Regions from separate parts of the Homo sapiens genome. Here regions 2, 3 and 4 are each linked to region 1. Evidence: promoter capture Hi-C in 16 types of primary human blood cells and fetal thymus (Javierre and others, 2016). All regions are on one chromosome and are shown on one strand. Each heading gives the region's core, a stretch centred on a gene start or on the middle of the fragment in contact. The rest is flanking DNA. Distances are from core to core; before and after follow the strand shown. Region 1 holds the start of SPACA4 (sperm acrosome associated 4). Region 2 overlaps ZNF114 (zinc finger protein 114). Region 3 holds the start of CARD8 (caspase recruitment domain family member 8). Region 4 overlaps EMP3 (epithelial membrane protein 3 (MAM blood group)).

What was found. The method cuts DNA at HindIII sites, captures the fragments that hold promoters and counts their contacts. A CHiCAGO score of 5 or more calls a contact.
Region 2: a contact is called between a fragment that was not itself captured here and the fragment with the promoter of SPACA4 in region 1, in 1 of 17 cell types (naive B cells). The highest score is 5.1, in naive B cells.
Region 3: a contact is called between the fragment with the promoter of CARD8 here and the fragment with the promoter of SPACA4 in region 1, in 2 of 17 cell types (total B cells and naive B cells). The highest score is 5.7, in total B cells.
Region 4: a fragment that was not itself captured here is called in contact with the fragment with the promoter of SPACA4 in region 1 in 2 of 17 cell types (M0 macrophages and endothelial precursors); the score reaches 7.7 in M0 macrophages.

Annotation. Positions count from the first base shown.
Region 1 is chr19:48,605,456-48,608,272 of GRCh38, reverse strand. SPACA4 (sperm acrosome associated 4) reads right to left here and starts at 1,531. Exons shown (of 1, transcript NM_133498.3): 1 at 559-1,531. The coding sequence starts at 1,294. The coding sequence ends at 920. The region is part of intron 5 of FAM83E (family with sequence similarity 83 member E); the gene reads left to right. The HindIII fragment of the contact is 9,007 bases long and covers 1-1,715 here.
Region 2 is chr19:48,283,970-48,286,920 of GRCh38, reverse strand. ZNF114 (zinc finger protein 114) reads right to left here. Exons shown (of 6, transcript NM_153608.4): 6 at 1-1,160. The coding sequence ends at 43. Among named protein-coding and RNA genes, the nearest start is that of ZNF114-AS1, 14 kb to the right of the region's middle. The HindIII fragment of the contact is 1,576 bases long and covers 614-2,189 here.
Region 3 is chr19:48,254,376-48,257,462 of GRCh38, reverse strand. CARD8 (caspase recruitment domain family member 8) reads left to right here and starts at 1,551. Exons shown (of 14, transcript NM_001184900.3): 1 at 1,551-1,671. CARD8-AS1 (CARD8 antisense RNA 1) reads right to left here and starts at 1,788. Exons shown (of 2, transcript NR_040599.1): 1 at 1,669-1,788; 2 at 1-1,112. RefSeq lists an enhancer at 1,443-1,682. The HindIII fragment of the contact is 2,537 bases long and covers 1-2,068 here.
Region 4 is chr19:48,328,800-48,331,733 of GRCh38, reverse strand. EMP3 (epithelial membrane protein 3 (MAM blood group)) reads right to left here. Exons shown (of 5, transcript NM_001425.3): 4 at 2,242-2,382; 5 at 1,181-1,433. The coding sequence ends at 1,264. Among named protein-coding and RNA genes, the nearest start is that of EMP3, 4.7 kb to the right of the region's middle. RefSeq lists an enhancer at 2,183-2,332. The HindIII fragment of the contact is 888 bases long and covers 835-1,722 here.

The sequences.
Region 1 (2,817 bases), core at 282-2,781:
TTAGACATGATGGAGCATGCTTCTAGTCCCAGCTACTCAGGAGGCTGAGGTGGGAGGATTGCTTGAGCCCAGGAGGTAGAGGCTGCAATGAGCCAAGATTGCACCACTGCACTCCAGCCTGGGCAGCAGAGCAAAACCCTGTTTCAAAAAGAAAAAGAGAGAACAATACACAGCTTTTGGACCCCACTGCCATTCATCGTGCCTGGAACAGGACCTGAGAATCTGCATTTTCAGGAAGTTCCCACTTGCTGCTGCTGCTGTTTCTGGTCCAGGGACCACACTTTGAGAATGATTGGAGTTGAGACCAGGATGTTTGAAATGTTTGAAAGAGTGTTTACCTTCCCAGCTTGGTGTGAGGATTCAGTGGCACGTAACGTAAGACAGGCTTGGCCAGGTGCCGTGGCTCATACCTGTAATCCCAGCACTTTGGGAGGCTGAGGTGGGAGGATCACTTGAGCCCAAGAATCCGAGACCACCCTGGGCAACATAGCTGGACCTTATCTCTACAAAAAGAAAAAAAAAAAAAGGAAAAGAAAAAGAAAAGAAAACAAAGAATGCTCCATGAACATCAGCTGTCATTTATTATGATATATATATATTTTTTACCATATTTCATGGACTCTAAAGTGCTACCAATGGAGAGAAGCATCCTGATTGAGATGTGAGAAGCTCTGCGTCTTAGAACCAGTGGAACAGAGTAATACAATCAAACCCACGGGCCGTGCTCCCCTGCCGCTCAGTCAGGCCTGGGGATGCTTCCCCTAGCACCGGGCTCCTGGTGGACAGCCTTAGAAGGGATGAAGCCAGGGCCGCAAGAGGTTGTCCAGGGCCTCTCTGGCCATTTAGTGGGGGAAGGACATGGGGACATGGGGAGTGGCGGATCTGGGAGAACAGTCCCAGGCCCTGTCCTCCCTGTTGGTCACAGCAAACGTGGAGGAAGCAGCATACCCAGCCCCAGTGCCAGGCTGGTGGTGGCCCCCACTGTCTGGCTGCTCGGGGCTCTGTTACACAGGCGGCCGGTGCAGCAGTTGGTGGTGAGGCTGTAGGTGACGCCCCTGTAGCTGACGGGTTCCTCAAGGCCGCAGCTGGTGGCTCGCAGGCAGCCTTTGTTGATGACCGGACCAGTGCCCGGGGCGACCCCGTGGCCTGTGAAGCAGTCCTCGTCATCGCCACAGTGCATGTAGGTACCAGGACACTGCATGGAGTCGGTGAGCTCACAGAAGACGCAGTCCTTGACGCCCGTCGTGCCTGGGGGCAGAGCCATCACCAGAAGCAGCAGCCAGCACAGGACCATGGCGGCCTGGCGGCGTTGACCCTGCCCCAGCCAGGCCGTGGGCTTCCCAGACCTCCCGGAACCGCTGAATGAAGGACCTCTGAGGACTCCTCTTGCCCACGGGACTTTGGCCCTGGTCCTGGCCTCCCAGGGTCAGCGCCTGGAGTGTCCTCTGTTCCCAACGCCCTGCGTCCCTCTAAGTCCTGGGGATGGAGGTGAGCGGGTGGCTGCTGCCCAACAAGAGTCTGTGAATGGAATGAGTGATCTCACAGATCCCTCAGGGTTCCCACTGGCCGCTCTGGGGATGAGGTCATAGGTGAGAGGAGTGGGTGTCACAATCCAAGGGGTGGCCTGCCCCGCCGACCTGCCGGGGCGCAAGAGGGCTCTGCCATCCCTGCCAAGGTGAAGACGCCCTGAACCCAGAGGACGCTGGCCACAAGCTTGTCCGCATTCTCTGTGCTGTACACCCGCCAAGGGCTTGACTTCAGCCTCACACCTCCCATAGTGACCCCATATTCCAGATGGGTAAACTAAGGCTGGGGAAAGTGATGTATCCAGGGTCCCCGAGCCAGGATGAGAGCCAGGTTCATTGAATTCCAAAGAGGCTGGGAAAGAAGAGGGTGTATTAACTGAGCACTTGCTGTGTGCCAGGATTCATGCTCAGTGCTTGCTTGCTTTTATTTTTTTGAGACGGAGTCTCTCACTCTGTCACCCAGGCTGGAGTGCAGTGGCGTGATCTCAGCTCACTGCAGCTTCTGCTTCCCAGCTTCAAGCGATTCTCGTAACTCAGCCTCCCGAGTGGCTGGGACTGCAGGCGCATGCAACCACATCTGGCTAATTTTTGTATTTTTAGTAGAGACAGGGTTTCACCATGTAGGCCAGGCTGGTTGCGAACTCTTGAGCTCAAGTGATCTGCCCGCCTCGACCTCCCAAAGTGCTGGGATTACAGACGTGAGCCACCACACCACGCCTGGCACTTGGTGCTTTCAATAACAACTACTGTGATGACAGGAAGTGTTAGGGCACCGGCCCCCACAGCTCACAGGCTCTCAGGGCCAGCTACGTGCAGGGGGCTTGATTCAAATTCAGTCATTTGAATATTCCTATGTTGTATTTATTTCTTAATTTTATTTTTTATTTTAAAAAATTGGCCGGGCGCAGTGGCTCACGCCTGTAATCCCAGCACTTTGGGAGGCCGAGGCGGGTGGATCACCTGAGCTCAGGAGTTCAAGACCAGCATGGCCAACGTGGTAAAACCCCATCTCTACTAAAAATACAAAAATTTGCTGGGCATGGTGGTGTGCACCTGTAATCCCAGCTACTTGGGAGGCTTGAACCTGGGAGGTGGAGGTTGCAGTGAGCCAATATTGTGCCACTGCACTTGAGCCTAGGCAATAGAGCAAGACTCCATCTCAAAAAAAAAAAAAAATAGGATCTTGCTCTGTTGCCTAGACTGGAGTGCAGTGGCGCGATCTTGGCTCACTGCAGCCTCAACTTCCCAGGCTCAAGTGATTCTCCTCCCTGAGCCTCCAGAGTAGCTGGGA
Region 2 (2,951 bases), core at 152-2,651, 320 kb after region 1:
TGGTACAGTCAGAAAATTAATGAAAAATTTTCCACCTTCCTTTCATTCACAGGGCTTCTCATCTTTGTGAGTCTTAAGATGTTTTTTAAGTCCTGACGACTTTGCAAAGTCTTTTCCACATGTCTTACATTTATAGGGTTTCTCTCCAGTGTGGCTCCTTATATGTGTATATTTTGAGGACTCCCGAATGACTTTCCCACATTCTTCACATTCGTAGGGCTTCTTCTGCACAACATGCTTTCTTAAATGTTTATTAAGGTGTAAGGAATATCTAAAGGCTTTCCCACATTTCCCACATTCATACGGTTTCTCTCCAGTGTGAATTTTCATATGTCTCATAAGGAATGACTGATAAAAAAAGGCTCTCCCACATTCGGGGCATTTATGGGTTTTCTCTCCAGTGCAATGACTCTTGTGTGAACCGGAATTTGGAGCGTTGGCAGAGGTTGCCCCAGTTTGACAATCCTTCTTGTTTGTCTCTGCGGTATACAACTGCATCTGCATGGCGTGAATTGAGTTATTTCTGGAGGTGTTCTCGCACTGAGTAAAATCATACATTTTCTCTCGACCATGAGTGTTGTGTGCCCTAAGGGATCCGTCTTCACGGAAAGCTTTTCCAAATGGATTCCGCTGGTGCCTGTTGGCCCCCGTATCAATTTCATCACGTATATGATGCACAGTGTTCTGACTGCCAGTCCATGTGCTTGATTTCAGCTCTGTTTTTCTCCCACACGGAACCCACTGAATGTTCCACCCCAAGACTCCATCGTCTTCGTTGTTTTCATGTGTTTTTTGACTATCGTTTAAGACAGGATTATACTTGAAAATACTTGAGTCACGTGTTAGGATACATTGTCTTATGGAATCTCCCTGTGAAGGCACAAGCCTGCAGGTAGGTTTAGAGTGGTTCCTCATTTCATGATCTTCACAAATGCTAACAGGAGATTCATCTTTCTCAGGGGCAACTGCAGGTGGCTTCACATTATTCACCCCCTGCCTGTGTGGTTCCTCTGTTTTGGGGCATCTCCAGTCTTCTCTTAATGTGGAGTGCTGGGAACTGATGCTCGTGAGACACACTCTGTTGGCTTCAGGAAATGTTCTTTTAGGAAGAATATCCGGCTGAGGGGTTGCGTCTTTGGTTTTACATGGAGTTGCCCAATCTGAAATACAGTGGCACAAAAGTTAAATTCTTTGTTGAAAGTAAAGGTGGGTTAGAGATGATGACATAGGCAATCTCCGTGTGGATTTCTCTCTTTCTTTCTTTCTTTCTTTCCCTCCCTCCCTCGCTCCTTCCATCCTTTCTTTCTTCCTTCCTTCCTTCCTTTCTTTCTTTTCTCTTTCTTTCCCTTCCTTCCTTCCTCCTTCCTTCCTTCCTTCTTTCCTCTCTCTCTCTCTCGTTCTCTCTGTCTTTCTCTCTTTTCTTTAGACAGAGTCTTACTCTGTGGCCCAGGCTGGAGTGCAGTGGCATGATCTTGGCTCATTACAACCTCCGCCTCCCAGGTTCAAGCAATTCTCTGGCCTCAGCTTCCTGAGTAGCTGAGATTACAGGTGCGTGCCACCATGCCTGGCTAATTTTTGTGTTTTCAGTTGAGATGGGGTTTCACCATGTTGGCCAGGCTGGTCTTGAATTCCTGGCCTCATGTGATCCACCTGCCTCAGCCTCCCAAAGTGCTGGGATTACAGGCATGAGCCAACGCGCCAGGCCTCTGTGTGGATTTCTTTCTAAATGTTCACTCAACATGTATGATAAAAATGTGAAGGGGAAGAAAGCAAGAGGAAGGAAGCAGAGAAAGACATCAGAGATTCTGCAGTGTCAGGAATGTGATGACGGTAAGGTCAGGGGTTCAACATGGAGAGTGTCATGTTACTGAGGAACAGTTCTGCAGAGATCAAGGAAACGATCAGGAATTCTAAGTGGAAGAGAATTGGACAGAGAGTCCATGTGAAATTTTTATTTTTTTGAGATGAGGGTGTCACTAGGTTGCCCAGGTGCTGGAGTGCAGTGGCTGGCTATTCATAGGTGTGATCACAGCACACTGCAGCCTTGAGCTCTTGGGATCAAGTGATCCTCTTGCCTCAGTCTCCCGAGTAGCTGGCTCCATGTGCAATTTTAAGGAGAAAAGGAACAGGCCTTTAGCAGGGAAAAATGAAAATATGAGAGGATGGATAAAAGTCAAAAAACATAAGCTTGGACAGGCACAGTGGCTCACGCCTGTAATCCCAGCACTTTGAGAGGCTGAAGTGGGTGGATCACCAGAGGTCAGGCGTTTGAGACCAGCCTGGCCAATGTGGTGAAGCCCCGTCTCTACTAAAAATAGAAAAATTAGCTGGGCATGGTGGCGTGTGCCTGTAATCCCAGCTACTCAGGGGGCTGAGGCAGGAGAATCACTTGAATCCGGCAGGCAGAGATTGCAGTGAGCTGAGACTGAGCCACTGCACTCCAGCCTGGGCAACAGAGTGCCTGTTTTTTTCTTTCTTTTTTTTTCCTTTTAATTAAAAAAAAATTGTTTTTAAAGACAAAAAGAACAGTGTTTTGCCATGTTGGCTGGGCTGGTCTCGACTTCCTGGCCTCAAGTAATCCTCCTCCTGCCTCAGCCTCCCAAAGTGCTAGGATTACAGGTGTGAGCCACTGTGCCTGGCCTATAGGTCTCCTTAGCTGCTCTGTAGATAACAACTTGAAAATTATAAAACATTAAGTTTTCTCTTTGAGATATTCCTTCAGGTCCTGCATTCTGATGAAATGACTATGCTCACTGATCTGAGGAATGCCGTGAGAAACTGACGCACCAAAGAATGTACTTTCCTCATCCCGATGATTTCATCCCCCTTCCTCTGACCAATCAACGTCTCCAATTCTCCAGTCCCTTATCCTCCATGATCCCCTTAAAAATGAGAGCAGTGGCTCATGCCTGTAATGCCAACACTTTGGGAGGCCGAGGTGGGCGGAGCAC
Region 3 (3,087 bases), core at 302-2,801, 350 kb after region 1:
CAAAAATGAATAGGTTTTTAATACAACAGACTATCCCAATTCCTTGAAAGAAGAAAATACACCCATTAAAACAGAAACTATGGTGCCTAGAATTAAACTGCACAAAAAACTACATGACCCATATAATTTTTTTATGTTGAAATAATTTTAAACATGCAAAATTAGCAAAGATTCATATAAATCCTCAACCAGCCTATCCTGATGTTAGCTATATATATAATTGTATTATATGTATAATAGTTGTTATATATAAAACTGTATATATACATTTATTGTATTATAATCATATATATACATTTATTGTATTATATATAATATACAACTGTATATGTAATTGTAATATAATAATTATATACATAATAGTATATGTAATACAAGTATCCAACCAGGAAATTGATGTCAACGTATCTTACCATTACCTAATGTGCAGACCTTATTTGAATTTTGTCAATATTTCTCTTAACGTCCTCTTTCTTCTCCAAGATCGAATCGAGGATCTCACATTGCACTCAGTTGTTATGTCCTTAGATTCCTCCAGGCTGTGACCGTTTCTTATTCTTCCCTTGTCTTTTGTGATTGTGACACTTTTGCTGAGCATGGCCAATTATTTTACAGAATGTTTATCAATTTGGATTTCTTTGATGTTTTCTCACGATTAGGCTGAGGTCATGCATGTTTGTCTTCTGTGTTCAGTCAATATGCCCCATCCTTTTTCAAATATTTCTTCATGTTCTGGCGTCAGAATTTGTTCCAATGTTATCTTATATATTCCTGCCCCAGCCCTCGAAGTAACCATTTCTCCACAGATACTTCAAAATAGTATTTAGAAACCAAGGCCGGGCACAGTGGCTCACGCCTGTAATCCCAGCACTTTGGGAGGCCGAGGCGGGCTGATCTCGAGGTCAAGAGACGGAGACCATCCTGACCAACATGGTGAAACTCCGTCTTTACTAAAAATACAAAAAATTAGCCGAGCGTGGTGGCATGCACCTATAATTCCAGCTACTCGGGAGGCTGAGGCAAGAGAATCGCTTGAACCTGGGAGGCAGAGGTTGCAGTGAGCCGAGATTGCTCCATTACACTCCAGCCTGGGTGACAGACGGAGACTTCATCTCAAAAAAAAAAAAAAGTAATATTGATTAAAAATCAAATTGCATGAGAATGCATAGCAGGATACCAAGCAAATACAACTTTTAAATATTACAGAAAATGATATTTAAAATACAAACCAAATACATAAATCATGCAGGCGGATTAAGACGTTTCTGGATAGTGGTAACAGCTGAGAGTGGCTGGATGAATTCCAGAGAAATTTCATATATTGCTTCAATTTTATTTAAAATATACTATTACCTATGTCTTAGATATTTTATTTTAAATAATGAACAAGGATATTATAAACTCTGCAGAAGTAAGTGTAATCGTGTTTTTTTCCTGCCCACATTAAAGATGGCCCAGATGCTTGCACTGACCCCATTGACTGCCCACAGCCATCATGGCGACCGGAAGTCCTGAGAGCTTACTTCCCTCAGTTCTCAGAAAGCCCACCTCCTCTGCGAGCGTTATTTCAAAAGAAGTTGAGAACCAGAGAAACCGACCTAAGGGGATTCTCCCATTTGGCCCGTCCTACCCTAAAGTCACCACCTGCTGCTTTTCTGGAGCGCTTACCAGGTGAGTTTCAGGAGCCCTAGTGTACAGGAAGGAGAAACGGAGGCTTGTTGGTAGGACACCGCCAGGCTGCTCTGTGTTCTGTTCCTCTTAGTCAGCAAGGAAGGAGTACGACAAAGTGAGAAGTTCATATGAGCGTGTCAGAAGGGGAAATAGGGCCCCTCCCTTGTTAAAAACAAAACCCTCTGGAAGCTCGGCATCCTGTCATAACTTAAATTTATGACTTCAGTGACTTGGCTTGGACAGTCTTAATAATCTCTCTCACACTCAATTTGTTTTAATTTCTGTAATAATAATTTTTATACCAATGTTTATGTTGTTAATACTAATAATTTTACACTGTAACTGTATAACTTTAATTATTAGAAGTGTTAACCTAACTAACAAACATATGAAAGCTTCCTAAGGGAAACAATTTTTTTTTCTTTTTGAGATGGAGTCTCGCTCTGTGGCTAGGCTGGAGTACAGTGGCATGATCTTGGCTCACTGCAACCTCTGCCTCCCAGGTTCAAGCGATTCTCGTGCCTCAGTCTCCCAAGTAGCTGGGACTACAGGCGTGCACCACCACATCCAGCTAATTTTTTATTTTTTAGTAGAGACGGGGTTTCACCATGTTGGCCAGGATGGTCTCCGTCTCTTGACCTCGAGATCAGCCCGCCTTGGCCTCCCAAAGTGTTGGGATTACAGGCGTGAGCCACTGCGCCCAGCCGGAAACAATGTTTATTTGGGAATAGAGCATTGCAATTGGGAATAGACATGCCGTATTAAACTATGTGTATATTCAGGGAGATAAAGGAAGACAGAAATGGGGAGGATTGCATATTGTTTTAACAGAATTTTCCTTGGCTACAAAGATCAGTAACAAGGGTGACATTAGTCCTAGGTTGGACCAGCAGTTGCTGGGCAGCATTCCTTGCAGAAATATATATTTTTTTAAGGTTGTGAAGACCTTTATGTAAGGTTGTGGGTTTTGTAGAGTCTTTTTCATCTTCAGGCATGCAAGGATAAGAGCCCTCTCTTCATGGCCTTCCTGGCTCTATTTGTCAGGGTTATCTTAACATAAGTGACTCCATTTTGTTCTGACAACTTTCAGATTTCCCCTTGTGATCAAGAAGTTTCTCTGAAAGCACTCTCCTGCCTCAGCCTCCCGAGTAGCTGCGACTACAGGTGCCCACCACCACACCCAGCTAATTGTTTTTGTGTTTTTAGTAGAGACGGGGTTTCACTATGTTGGCCAGGCTGGTCTCGAACCCCTGACTTGTGATCTGCCCACTTCGGCCTCCCAAAGTGCTGGGATTACAGGGATGAGCCACCGCACCAGGCCTGCATTTCTTTTTTCAAAGAATTACTGTGGCATTTTTTCCAATGTCATTGTGTTCTGTGGTTCTTATCTAGTCTTCACATTTATTTACATAATGA
Region 4 (2,934 bases), core at 29-2,528, 280 kb after region 1:
GGCCTGTGCAGATTGTTAACTGCACAAAGGAACACAGCCACGGGTGGGTGGCTGTAAGACCCAGCCCATACCCCTACATGTATCCTGGTGTGGGGCTGGGTCAGCCAGAAGAAGGGGTGCCTCCTAATTTTTGCTAACGTGTCATATGGGCTAGAGGCAGCCTTTGGGGAGACAGGGGAAGTCTCCCTCTCTAGGACCCCAAATGTTCAGTCCCTAGAGAGGGAGACTGGGCTGGGCGCGGTGGCTCCCGCCTGTAATCCCAGCACTTTGGGAGGCTGAGGTGGGTGGATCACCTGAGGTCAGGAGTTCAAGACCAGCCTGGCCAACATGGTGAAACCCCGTGTCTACTAAAGATACAAAAATTAGCCGGACGTGGTGGTGGGCGCCTGTAATCCCAGCTGCTCAGGAGGCTGAGGCAGGAGAATTGCTTGAACCCGGGAGGCGGAGGTTGCAGTGAGTGAAGATCGCACCACTGCACTACAGCCTAGGTGACAGAGCGAGACTCCGTCTCAAAAAAAAAAAAAAAAAAAAAAAAGAGAGAGAGGGAGACTGGTTTCCTAGAGGGAAAAAGAAAGCTGTCTTCCCAAATGGAAAGTTAGTAGAAAGAAAAAAGAGTCCAGAACTAGCCGGGTGTGGTGGCTCGTGCCTGTAGTCCCAGCTACTCGGGAGGCTGAGGCAGGAGAATCGCTTCAACCCGGGAGGCGGAGGTTGCAGTGAGCTGAGATCGTACCACTGCACTCCAACCTGGACAGAAAGAAAAAAAGAGTCCGACAATCTAGAAACACACACTATGCCCGGGGTTCAGAGAGAGAGAGCAACAGAGTGACAGAAGCTTGAGCAAGGAGACAGGACTGGTCACTGCAGGCTTCCTATCCTAACAGGGTCTGCTGGGACCCAGAATCCAGGTTCTTCCCAGAAGTGTCTGAAGGTCTAGATTCAGGTGCCTCACAGAGGTCTCTTGGGCCTTGAGCGGGGAAGGCCCAGGCTCTTGGGTCTGTGGGAGGGAAAAGGTGCCTGGGGTCCCGGCTCCTGTGTCCTCGGGAGGAAGGGGTTGGGGGCTGGGAGATGGGCATTCTGAGGGCTGAGCAGCTGGCGGTGGGGACCATGTTAGGTTCAGGAGAGGTCAAGCGTGCGCAGCCTGGGTCCCTGGAGGCGGAAGGAAGGAAGATCAAGGCAGAGCCCGCGGTTAAGGTTTTATTTTTTGGAGGACGCGCGGCGAGGGGGGCCGGGAAGGGGCGGGGGCAGCCGAGCGAGGCGGGGCGCTCACTCCCGCTTCCGTAGGTGGATGTAGATGATGCCGCTGACCAGGGCGAGGGGGAAGGCCACCCAGGCCAGGGCGAAGCAGTATCCGAAGCTGCCCCCTCGCGGGTGCTTCTCCAGGATCTCCTCGGCGTGAATGGCATAGATCAAGGCGCCAGTAAACACCGCCACGCCTGCGGAAGATGAAAACCACACGTCATGCAGTGCCCCCTCAAGACTACATTTCCCAATATCCCATGGGGGCAAAGAAGCGCCGGAGGGCCCGTGGGCAGCGCCGCTGCCTGCTGGGAGTTGTGGTTCTTTCCCCCCCGCCCAGCGCCGTGCAACTGTAGCGCGGCCTTAGGTAACTGATTTAATCTCTCTAGGTCCAATAATATCTCTCTATCCATCCAAGGAATATTTTTGAGTGTGTTTCTATAAGCCAAACATGCAGTAGTAAATTCATAAACCAAGAGAGAAGCTTTGCAAGAACCTATAATGTTCCCCAAACTGACTGTGATTAAGTTAGCCCTTTGCACCTTAAGTCAAAAAATTAAAAAGTACGCAAAACTTCTTGAAGTATCTGATGCACAATAGGCACGCAAGAAACAGCGGTTGGCTGATATAAATACCATTATTATTATGATTTAGAGCTCTCTACTGAGGTACTAATTAGTTTATCCCCCCACGTCACGGCCGATCCCTGGGACCAAAACTATTTACCTATACCTCCTTCCCCAGCCCCGGCTCCCTGAAACTCTGAGTTCCCTGATGACTCATACGCACAAGCCATAACTATCATTAGCCACTGAAAACTACAAGTCCCAGCAATCCCTGGGGGCAGAGATGTAGCCCACGGAGGCACCTCTTGTGGCTCGTGGGGTGTTGAAAGTTGTTTTTTTCTACGAGAGGCCCATTCTCAGGGCCCCCAGCATCTTGACACACCCCACTCCCTTCTGCTCAATTCTTGGGGGATTAGGGTTGGGGAGGGGCAGTGCTCACTGGTGCAAAGCTGGCAGAGGCCGGTGGCATAGAAGAGACCTCCTCGTCGCATGGTGTAGAGCTGGAACATGAACAGGATGAAGGAGAGACAGCAGAGAATGAGGGAGAGCACCATGAGGACCTGCACCGCCTTCAGCCAGCCTGCAGTAAGGAGGACACAGAGGGGGACATCACCGTGGGTCCAGAGTTCCAGCTTCACCTGCTTGCTCACCATGTGACCCTTCTCTGCCCCATCCCTGCTCCCGTTTAGGCCCATACAAGCCTAGATACTTAGATGTATCACTTATTTTGACCTTGAGCCCTGTTACCTTGCTATATTCCCTTCTCAGTTCTAGTAGTTGCTTTGCCAATTTCCTTTTTCTTTTTTTTCTGAAACCAGGTCTTGCTCTGTTGCCCAAGCTGGAGTGCAGTGGTATAATCATGGCTCACTGCAGCCTCGTCCTTCAGGGCTCAAGAAATTCTCTCACCCCTGCCTCCTGAGTAGCTGGGACCACAGGCACAAGCCACCACAACCTGGGTAATTTTTAAATTTTTGTAGAGACAGGGTTTCCCTATGTTGTCCAGGCTGGTCTTGAACTCCTGGGCTTAAGTGATCCTTCCTCCTCAGCCTCCCAAGGTGCTGGGATTACAGGTGTGAGCCACTGTGTCTGTCTGCTTTGCAGAATTTTAATGGATTTTCTACATAAACAACAT